Linked DNA regions of Homo sapiens: region 2 is linked to region 1. The links are contacts of gene promoters, found by promoter capture Hi-C in human tissues and cell types (Jung and others, 2019). All regions are on one chromosome and are shown on one strand. Each heading gives the region's core, a stretch centred on a gene start or on the middle of the fragment in contact. The rest is flanking DNA. Distances are from core to core; before and after follow the strand shown. Region 1 holds the start of GLI3 (GLI family zinc finger 3). Region 2 overlaps GLI3 (GLI family zinc finger 3).

What was found. The method cuts DNA at HindIII sites, captures the fragments that hold promoters and counts their contacts. A contact is called where the count stands out against the background at its distance.
Region 2: a contact is called between a fragment that was not itself captured here and the fragment with the promoter of GLI3 in region 1, in 1 of the 25 tissues and cell types used here (H1 embryonic stem cells).

What each region holds. Positions count from the first base shown.
Region 1 is chr7:42,234,408-42,240,170 of GRCh38, forward strand. It overlaps GLI3 (GLI family zinc finger 3), which reads right to left and starts at 2,802. Exons shown (of 15, transcript NM_000168.6): 1 at 2,564-2,802. RefSeq lists an enhancer at 2,546-3,527. The HindIII fragment of the contact is 7,383 bases long and covers 1-5,763 here.
Region 2 is chr7:42,100,714-42,106,476 of GRCh38, forward strand. All of the region lies in intron 3 of GLI3 (GLI family zinc finger 3), which reads right to left. Among named protein-coding and RNA genes, the nearest start is that of GLI3, 130 kb to the right of the region's middle. The HindIII fragment of the contact is 6,829 bases long and covers 206-5,763 here.

The DNA.
Region 1 (5,763 bases), core at 1,552-4,051:
GGCCAAGAAACAAAGGAAAGTCCAACTTTTAGGCTTGCACATCGAATTGATAAATTAACAATTCTTTCATTAAATAATTAATGAAATAACTCTACAGAGCCATTTTTCATCAGTATTGAATTTTCTCATTTCTGTCTATGGTCCTTTGCAAATTAGATATACAATAGAAATGTGTTTATATCAAGGTTCAGTCAAGGAACACAAGCATGTTAAAGGCACTGGGAATTGGTAGGCATCTGAGTTGGACCTACCAGCCTACTAACAATAATACAATCTATATCTTTAAAGTGTTTCTGCTTGTGTGAAATTTCACTAGACACCTCTCACATTGGACTCATTCATGCATCTTAAACCAAAGCTTCCCTAGGCTGACTTTAAGAATTGCATACCCTGAAAGGATCTCCCCTTAGGCGGGGAGTTTCTAATTAAATAGCTTTTAGTATAAAATAAACTCTCTACTCTGTATAAGCATGCTATTACAACTAATTTAAATGTTATTTCATGTTTGTTTTAGGTTTGAATATAGTTTAACTGGCCAAAGTGTTTGTGTACCAGGTCGTTAAGACCAATATTTCCTAACATAAACAAATTCTTCAGATACTTCACAGAGTTTACATTGTTAAAACCAGTCCCGGCAGCTTTAATATATCCCCTCAACTGAAATACTGTTCTGCTTTAGAAAAATTAAGAGATTTTGAGGCTATTTCACTATTTTAAAACATAGCATTTTCCTCCTTCAAAAGAATCTTGACACATGTAATTAAGAAACTGTCAGACTACTATTAATTTTTAATCTAAAACCTAAATGAAATAATTACAGGAATCAATCAATAAGGCACCTATTCAAAATTACCGAGCAATTACATAAATACTCAAAATTAATACTTTAGGTCAATTCTTGTAGATTTCGGTCTATAATATGCTAAGACATCAAACAACACAAAAAGTGTAGCATGGGGAGGATGAATGGTTCCTGCCTTAAATAGACTGAAAAGAGCTCATTTCAGACGGCCAGGGTGCAGGCCCCCCACCCGCCATGCCCAATGCGCTCAAGCTGAAACTCTTTTATTTTTAAAAGTTAATTTATTTCCACCAGACACATATTTCAGGGATCTAAAAAAACGGCCTCATCCAAATTCTGTACAAAAATCACATTTAAGAGGGAAAGGCCTAATTACTCGAATTTTCAGCAAAGTGTATATACTGTGCTCTGGAAAGCCTAACTGGAGAGAAGAGGGAGGAGAGGAAAAGGGGAGCAGGAGGTATTTTTTAGAACTAATAATACCAGCCCGGCTAATGGCACTGCCATGTATTTGCACAGCGGCCGGCCCTCCATACCTTTGACTAAAGGGTTCTTTGACTTGGAGACGCAGACAGTCCATCATTTCAAACTGAAGTGGCAGCTGGAAAATGTGGAACAGCTGGCAAAGAGCTGGGAGAAAATGTTTTACATAAATATATGTACATATAAACTGGCAGAGGGCCATGAGCACTGTACCCAAGGCCAGAATCTACCCGGCAGTCTGCACTGGGGAGATGAGAAGTTGGGGCAGGATGACCAGCGGCGGAGGGAGCCTCCTTAATCCTCTTTCCACGCGGGGTCAGGCAGGGAAGCCTGGGGTGCAGCGCCTCTCGGGGGACGGCATCTTACAGAAGGAGGTGCAATGGGGGACAGGAGCACAAAGTTCAGGAAAGGATAAAAGGCCGGGTGCGGGGTGGAGCGTCCGCTTCGGACAATCTGCTTAAAAGTCGCTTCACAAACTCTGCAAGTTTGGGATCAATATTTACACCCTCTCTGCCTTCTCCCGCCCGTTTTCCCGCTGCTACTCAAGAAAGTAACTGTCCCCTGCTGCTCTGTGTAAACGCGGCACCTTAAATGATTATTGCATGGACCACGGTTACTTTGTGTGTCTGTGCGCGCTGCCCCTGGAAAGGAAAAGAAATAAGAGAATCCCAAATCATATACAGATGGTACAACTTTCACTTTTCCTCTATGACGACGAAGGCGCGCCTCTCTCCATCCGCTCACACCACACCCCCGCCCTCCGAAGCATAGCCCGGGCTGGAGAAGCCCCAGCGGCGGCGGCCCCCGCGGCGGAGGTCCCCGCGCGCACCCACCATGCCTCCCGCCTCCTTCCGCCCATCCCGAGCGCCGTGCGCGCCCGAAGCCCGAGCCGTAGAGCGCCACCGCGCAAAGGAAGGAGCCAGGCGCGTGCGGGGCTCGCGGAGTTCTTCTGAACCCTTTGGATGGGGGCGGAGGCGAGGGGCGCCGCCACCACTGCGGCAAACTTCGTCCCCCCTCCGGGAGGTGAAATTCTCCAATCCGTCTCCGGCCGGTCCGCGGGTCGGACTCTTCGGAAAGGACCTTCCAGGAGGAGGGAGCGAATGCAAGCCTTGCTCGGACGCCTCACCGGCGGCTCTCTAAATCTGGGCGCCTTTTGACAGCCATTTTCACTCCATCCCGTCCCCACGCTGGGGACCACCTCTGGCCCCGGAGGCGCGGGCGCGGCCGCAGGAGCGGGCTGCGGGGTCCGCGAAACAAAGAACTTCGAGCGGGACGTACCTGCGGCGGCAGCGGCTGTCAAGTCCCCGAACTTCCCATAGACCCGCGGACGGGGCGCAGGCTGGCGGCTCCCCGCTCCGCGCGGCCGCGGGCGGCTACGGCTACCGCGAGCGGCCGGGCTGGGCGCGGGGTGCGCCCGCCGCGGGCATGGTGCGGCGCGGGCGGCCGCGGGGCGCGCGGGGAAGGCGGGAGAGCGGCGCGGGTGAGTGGGAGCGGCGGGTGTGCGCGAGTGCGAGTGTGCGAGCGCGCCGGTGGCGCTGCCCCTGCCCGCTCCCTCCCGCTCGTGCAGCTCCGGCATCAGTTTCGGGGATCGTGTAATCCGATCCCTTCTGACTCACAAGCCCTGAGTGACAGTTCTGATTTGGTTCAACCGCGGGAGGGAGGGGAAAGAGAAAGAAAGAAACCCCCAGCCGTACGCCTCTCCTGGCATCCAATCGACTTTCTGGAAAAAGGTCCCATCCCGGCCTGGTGCCCCGTGCTGGGTGGAGAAGCCCCCCGCCCCGACCTGGCACCGCCTGCACTACTCACGGGGTGGAAAAGTTGTCCCTCGGCTCCGCGCTCCCCTCCCGCGCGCTCCCTCCTTCCCTTCTCTCCTCCTCTTCCTCCTCCTCCCCGCGCTCCTCCTCCCCCAAGTTTTAACAGATGTTGCCGGACTCTCCTCGCTCCCTCGCACTCTCTCTTCCTCCGCCCCGGCCCCCGCCCAGTCCCTTTTCTTTCAGCCACTCTCGGGCTCGGAGGGGACGCGCTGAGCAGCAGGACGCCTGCCGCCGCAGGGGGCGAAGTTGGGAAAACTTGGAGTGCTGCTCGCCTTACTTTTGCTTTCTCGCTCCTTCCAGGCCGCGCCGGGAGCCCCCGCTTCTCCCGCCCGCCGGGTCCCCAAGCCCGGAGTGGGTCCCAGCTGCGAGGCGGGCGGCGGCGGCTGGGAGGCGGCGCGTCGCGGGCCGGGGTCGGGGGCTGGGGGGGAGCCCGGGCGCCGCGAGCCACGCGCGCGCTCCCTCCCCGCCCTCCGCCGCCGCCGCCGCCGCCGCCGCCGCCTCCTCCTCCTCCTCCTCCTTCTCCTCCTCCTCCTCCTCCTCCGCCCCTCCCCGGTCTTCACACAGACACATTCATGCCTGCTCCTCCTCTTCCCCCTACTTGACCCCGCGCCCTCCCGGCGCGCCGAAGCCCCACCCACCCGGCGAGGGGAAGGGGGCCCGGGCGTGATGTCACCCGCGCCCTCTCTCTTCTCTCTCCACACCGCCAGGACACCCCCCAAATGCGCGCCCTGGCACTCGTGCTGCGTCCTGTCTGCTCCCATCTTCTCCCACCCAGCCTCTCTTTCTCACTCTTGCTCAAGGGCTGGACTCCCCTTTATTCTTTTAAGGCTTCTCTGATTACCACCGCCCCCCATCCTTGGCTCCCCATCTCCTTGTTTTACATTTTCCCAAAGCCATCCCCGAAACTCCCTCTCGCGGGATGATGCCTTTGGAAGTTCAGGGTTTTTCTCTCCACCGGACTCGTCTGCCCTCGGGGCCAAATCCGCGAAGCGAGGAGGAGCTCCCACCACACAGCCTGCTGTCCCTATGGGCCACTTTATAAAAGACACAAAAACAAAGACCCCAGGCTTGGAGCCTGGTCTCTAACGTGCCGCTTTTCCTTGAGCTACAAAGTGTCTCTGTCCCTGCTTCATTTTCAGAGGCCCATGCTAGTAAAAGTTATTTGGCCTCCTTCCTCGACCATCCAGTCCTTGTTCATCTGCGTCATTTTAATATATCCAACCTGGACATGTAACTTAAAAAAGGAGTTCTCGGGGGGAAACACAGGAAGAAAAAGAAAGAAAAGAAAGCCCCTGTGACATTCCAACATCCCCTCTTTCTGGTTAAGCCGGGTCCACCCAGCCAGAAGTGCCCCGGAGCTCCGGGTTGCTTGTGTGGCGTTGCCGCCAAGTGTCTTGACTGAAGGAAGAGTGTGGGTGGATGAATGATGAGCTATTAGAATTTGAAGAGCATTTTGAGATTCAAATGCTTAACTGAAGAATCTTTTAACGAAATTGAGGGTGGTATTCATTGTTTGTTTCTTGGGACTCCTTCCTTGTCACAATGACATGACAAGTGCAGAGACAGACTTAAGGTTTTATGGTGGAAGTGGTGGAGGTAAGGTGGGGCTAAAGGCCCTAGTTAGCCATTTGTTTTAAGATTTCCCTCGACCTCACGGCTCAGGAAAAAACAAAACACCACTGACTCATCGCAGAGAGCACGAGACTCAGAAGCCCTGTGGCAGCCCCATCTCCGCGCTCACTAACTGGCCTCAGGCCTGGGAGGATTCTCTGAGCCTCCATAGGCTCTGAGCCCATCTAGGGGATAGTGTTAGGAGTGCCAGGTCGCGTACCTCCCAGGATGGCTGAGGGTTTCCAATGAGAAATACATGGAAAAGTATAGAGGGCTACAAGTGTGTAAGAATTATGCTTTTACAATTGAAGAGAATTGCAAGCCACTCTTTCCTTTATATACTCCCAGCATCAGTTACAATTGTTTTTAGTATTCATGTACTGCTTCTGCCTCAATCACATGAATACAAATAGTACATCCTGATAGCCTACTCTGTTCACCCAATGGCAAAAAATAAATACAAAGAAAGACAGCCAATAAATCATCAAATAATAGAATAAACTAGATATTTCGACTCTTACTTCAGTCTTATAGCACATTTTGAATCATGAAGATCTTGATTTTTCAGTTCTTAAAAGACAAGAACAAAGCAAAAGCAGCTAATCTTTCCCCCTATGCCCGTCACAATAGCTAAACAAAAAAGAGGAAGAATAATGCTGTGTCTCTTATGTGTCCAACTCTGCTTTAATGGTAAACCCATACATATAAGTAGGCACATTTTGCAGAAACAGTGGAGGGGTAAAAAACCCACTTTGCCTGAGTGTGGGTTAAATAATGTCATAATGCAGTGACTTTCTCTCTGTGTTAACACCAGAACGCTTTCCAAATTAAATCTTACGTAGAATCCCAAAATATAGAAGAGTTATTATGGTTGAAATTGGAGTGAGGTCTCGGAGCCCAATCCCCCTAAGCCTTTCTCTCTTTCCCTTTCCTGCAGTTGCTCCTGAGACATCTGTAAAAACCCAAAGACACCCAGAAAGACAATGCTACAACCTTTGTTTGTAGTGATACACAGCACTAAGAGACTTACAGGATTCTGTGCACTGCCCTTCC
Region 2 (5,763 bases), core at 2,370-4,869, 130 kb before region 1:
TGTGGGTGACAGAGCAAGACTCTTTCCAAGAAAAAGAAGAGGGGGTGGGGGTTTGTACACAGACACACCACAGGAAGACAGCCATGGAAGAGAGGCAGAGAGTGATGCTGCCATGAGACAAGAATTGCCTGGGGCTTCCAGAAGCTGGAAGAGGCAAGGAAGGATCCTCCCTTAAGATTTCAGAGGGAGGATGGCCCTACCAATACCTTGATTTTGGACTTTCAGCTTCCAGAACTGACAGATAATAAATTTCTGTTGTTTTGAGCCCCCAGTCTGTGGTACCTTGTTCTGGCAGTGCTAGCAAACATACACACCTGGGTTTCCTTACAATTTTGTTTTGGGAAGGCCGCCCTATACCAGTGACTTTTGAAGAGGCTACATTCTCTTCTCCTGTGAGTAGGAGTAGCAGTAAATATTGACAAGAAACAAAGAACCTAACAACCCTCAGAAGAGCTGAGAAGAGGAAAGCATGTGCAGTATGCCCATCGTCATTTTCTGGCTGTGAAGCATCTATTCCTTCTTCCCACAGAACTCTGATTTCCTTTGCAGAATTAACTTCTCTCCTACTGTATTTAGGCATTCTGGGGTGATAAATAAAAAATCCAGGACTGGCGTGGTGGCTCCCGCCTGTAATCCCAGCACTTTGGGAGGCTGAGGTGGGAGAACTGCTTGAGTCCAAGAGTTCGAGACCACCCTGGACAACACGTCAAGACCTGGTCTCTACAATTTTTTTTTTCTTTAAATTAGCCAGGTATGGTGGCATACACCTCTGGTTCCAGCTACTCATGAGGCTGAGGCAGTAGGATTGCTTGAGCCCGGGAGGTGGAGGCTGCAGTGAGCCATGTTGGCACCACTGCAGTCCAGCTTGGGCGACAAAGCAAGACTCTGTCTCAATTTTTTTTTTTAAATGTATAATTGCTTTAATATGCTGCTGAATTTCGTTTGCTAGTATCTTTTTATTTATTTATTTATTTATTTTATTATTATTATACTTTAAGTTTTAGGGTACATGTGCACATTGTGCAGGTTAGTTACATACATATACATGTACCATGCTGGTGTGCTGCACCCACTAACTCGTCATCTAGCATTAGGTATATCTCCCAATGCTATCCCTCCACCCTCTCCCACCCCACAACAGTCCCCAGAGTGTGATGTTCCCCTTCCTGTGTCCATGTGATCTCATTGTTCAATTCCCACCTATGAGTGAGAATATGCGGTGTTTGGTTTTTTGTTCTTGCAATAGTTTACTGAGAATGATGGTTTCCAATTTCATCCATGTCCCTACAAAGGACATGAACTCATCATTTTTTATGGCTGCATAGTATACCATGGTGTATATGTGCCACATTTTCTTAATCCAGTCTATCATTGTTGGACATTTGGGTTGGTTCCAAGTCTTTGCTATTGTGAATAATGCCGCTGTAAACATACGTGTGCATGTGTCTTTATAGCAGCATGATTTATAGTCCTTTGGGTATATACCCAGTAATGGGATGGCTGGGTCAAATGGTATTTCTAGTTCTAGATCCCTGAGGAATCATTTTTTTAAAAAATCCATGAGCCTCACTGCCCAAGACAGCCAGGGTACCTGGCTCTGATAGCAGACGGCCTCTGCTGAAAGCCTGAGTCCTGAGCCTGAGTTGGGGGAAGGAGAAGCAGTCAGAGCTCATTCCCCCAGGGAGACTCTCACGCCTGCTTCCTATGCCTCTACAGCACCTGCTTCTCGAGATTTTCTGACAATTTTAAGACAATTCTATGTCATCCCAGCAATTCCTGTTGGTGCAAGGGTTGGAATCAGTTTCTGTTGCATGTAACCCAATAGCCCTGGCTGATGCAGGAGGAAAACCTCAACAGCCCAGCCACCGAGCAGCTGTACAGGCTGGGTGTGCACTTAACTTCTTGGGCTTCAGTGCCTCACCAGGCAAGTTACACCAAATCTCTTCCCATGCCTAGGATTAGAACATTTATGATTCTAAATGTTTCTGCTATAAGACGTAAATTATCTAAGGCTCAGACATGGTGAGCTGAACTGCAGGTGAACAGCAATCCTGCTCCGGCTTGTCCCTAAGTCAAGCAGGGTCATTTGAAACTTTTGTCTTTAACAACCCCCTGAATACAAGGATATGGGAGTGCCATCTCAGTTCGCCGGTCACACTGGCGCAGAAATGCCTAATTGTGGCATATTATAACATACAGCAAACTCAAAGCTTAAGACGCTTTGAACTCCATTCTGCAGATAGATGCTGAGTTAATCACAATTGACCTTCCATGTAGCAGGTGAAAATAGTGAACATGTACTAACTCACACTTTTGGAGGGTAGAGAATCCGGAAGCGGCTTAGCTGAGTGGCTCCGGCTGAGGGTCTCTCAGGAGGCTGCAGTCACCTCAAGGCCTGACTGGGGGAGAGTATGTTTCCAGACTTGGCTCCTCCCCATACAGCCTCTCCACCAGCTGAGTGTCCTCATGGCATGGCCACTGTCCACCCCAGAGTGAGGGATTCAAGAGGGAGGGCAAGAGAGCCACCTGAGTCACAGTCCTTTTGTAATCTAATTTTAGAAGTGCCATCCCATCACTTCACTGGAAGTAAGTCATTAAGGAAAGAGGAAGGAAGTCCCACCTCCTGAGGGCAGGAGTATCAAAAACTTGTACACATGTCCTTAAACCCCCCACAGTGCCATAAATAGCTGAACTTTTTATCCAATCTCCGATTTATACAGTGACATGATTCAAAGATCAAATGTATCTTATTAAAAAAAAAAGCAGGACTAGGAGGCAAAAGACTGTGGCTTTGATTCAAGTTCTGAAAGCAGCTCACTATGTAATTGGGGAACCAAGATAACTGATTCTCCAAGATACTTAGGGAACCTCTCTGCAACTATTTCTTCAGCTATTACACTTTGGCCAAGTGCTATGCTTAACACACATGACCTCACCCAGTCCTTTTCACATTCCAGTGACGTAGATATCTGAATCCTCATTTCTCAGCTGCGAACACTGAGGCATAAAGACACTAAATCACCTATCCAAGAGCACCCAAGATAACCCAAGATAAGGAGTCAGGATGGGGCCCTAAATCTGTCTCTCAAGCTTCAGATGTAGATTGGCATGTGAAGAGACTCAGAAAAGAGGAAAAGGTAGAAATAAAAGTGCTACAATCTGATAATGCATTACCATGAACCATAAATAATAACAGAGTTAATAAAAGAAGTGAGAACAATAGTAATGATGGTGCTGATGATGATGTTAGGCATGTGGGTGTCACGTGAGGGGCCAGCTGACTTTCTAGTATTCACTGTGCATCTCTTTCCTTGACTGTTCACTGTATCTCTGAGGACGATGTGCTTTGTTTGGTGCCCTGTACAAGTATATGAGCATACTTACGGTCTCCACTTGAAGAAGATGAAAGCATTGAAAAATAAAATGGTGCCAGACAGTTAGGCCAGTAGTTAGGAATCTATCATCTTCAGTAAAATCCTGAACTTCACTTCTCCAAAAGTCAACATTAGTCTAAATTAAAGATGTTGTCAGAAAAGAAGATAATGCATCACGTAAAACCTACCTAGACATACTGCGTACCCAACATCCTTCAGTACCCAGTTCAGTCTCCTGTGAAGACGCCCTGACATCTGCACCCTCCAGCCTTGTTCACACATCCGCTCTAGCATTTCCCACTTCCCATCTCTACAGTGGGTAAACAGGCAGGGCGGGAAAAATGTCTTACTAATCTTTGAATCCCATAAACACAGCAAGGAATCTGGCATAAAGTAGGCATTTCCAAATATTTACTGAATCAATGAACCACTCCTGAGATTACTATGTGTAATGGGTGTGAGATTATGAAATCATCATTTAATAAACACACATTTCTGAGATTCAAACTCTTGGCTTAAAAAAGGTTTAAAGATGGATTGATTCAGGGAAACATTTAAAGTTACAACATTGCTATAGACTGAATATATTCTTCTAAAATTCACATATTGAACTCTAATCCCCAATGTAATGGTATTTGGCAGTATGGCAACTGGGAGGTGTTCATAAGGGTGGAGCCCTTATGAATGGGGTTCCTTTTAAAGAGGCCCCAGAGAACCTATTGGCCGTTCCACCACGTGAGGACACAGTGAGAAGAAGGCCATCTATGAACCAGAAGACAGGTCCTCATCAGACAACAAATCTGCTGGCACCTTGATCTGAGACTTCTCAGTCTCCAGAACTGTGAGAAATAAATTTCTACTGTTTATAGGCCACTCCATTTATGGTATTTTGTTACAGCAGCCTGAACAGATTAAGACTGTGATACTGCCAGGAACTTTGATAATTATTATCTGAATTTATCCAAAGAAACACTGTGAAATTGCCTTCATTTTACAGGTGAGGAAACTGGGGTTCAAACAGAATAAATAATCTGCCCTGGGTCCTTCATGGCCAGTCCTGAAGCCGTGTGTTTCTAACTCCTGGTCTGACATGTGCCTGCTACTGTGTGCCCTGAATTCAAGTGGGCAAATTCAGGAAGGCACACTGAACTTGGCTTGATGTGGACTGATAATCAGGTACTAAATGGCTGCTTCTTTTTTTTTCTGTTTCATAATTTACACCCAGATTTGGAAAGATTTGGAAGCAGATTACATCTTTATCACCCAAAGTATGTTTTCAGAAAGAATCTTGTTTCTGAGAAGCATAAATTTAGTTTCAAATATTTATAAAAATTACTCTAAATAAAAGCAAAACTCCATGAAAAAGAAAATGCACTGGCATAGAGAGAAAAGCGAGAAGCGAAAGGAAGTAAGAGGAAAATGAGAGATGGGGAGATAGGATGACGCCGTGGGGAAGGAGAAAGAAAATCAGGGAAAGATTTAAAAAGAAGATAATATGTACTTAAGTTAATCACAGATGATAGAAAATCTTTTCAGGAAATGTACATCTGAATTTAAAAACAGCATTCTTTAGTTCCACTTCATCAAGCAAACAGCAGAATCTGCAAGGTGTGAATCCTCCCACTTAGGGCTGGGCCTTAATAGACTGTGTGTGTCCAGTGCTAGCCTCGGGGGAACCAGCTCTCCATACACATCTGTTGAATGGAAATCAATTTTCCTCAAGCAAAGAGGCAGCTCTGTCTCTCGTAAACAAGCACCTCCACGTCTGCAGTCACATAAGACTGATTTTAATGAGCGGGGTGTGAGGTCACGCCCGAGGTACATCCGCTTATCCAAGGGGCCCAGACACCCCACCAGGAAATCAAATTTCTCAGTACATACCTCAATGATGAACCTTCCTTTTAGCCCCTAAAGGTTTCTCTCATCCTTTTTGCATTTGGTTTTTGGCCAAGCAGGCTGGAAAGTATAAAAGCCAAAAGAGGCAGGGGTGGAGCAGCCGGGCAAGCAGGAAGAAGCATGTGTTTTCTGGCCTCCATCTCCCCAGCAGTTCCAGCATGTTCCGTAATTGGGCAGCCTGGCCTCACCGTCCAACAGGCATCCTCATGCAGCCCGCAGTTTCCATGCTGCTCACTGTAAATGTCTGATATCTGCACGTCCTCTGAGAGCACAGCCCAGAGGCTGAGCATGCTCACAGACACCCACTCAGCACCTGGCCCTCAGAACTGTGCTGTCCCCAGCCTAAGGCCTCAGGGTCCAATGCCCACCCCTCTTGCTCCTGCAGAAATCTAGGCTGCAAGGTGCTCCTAATCTCTGTGTCCCTCCAGCTGCAATAGGAACCCTAGTCACAACAGATCTTATGGCCACATGAGCAAGGACGGGCTCCTGCCAA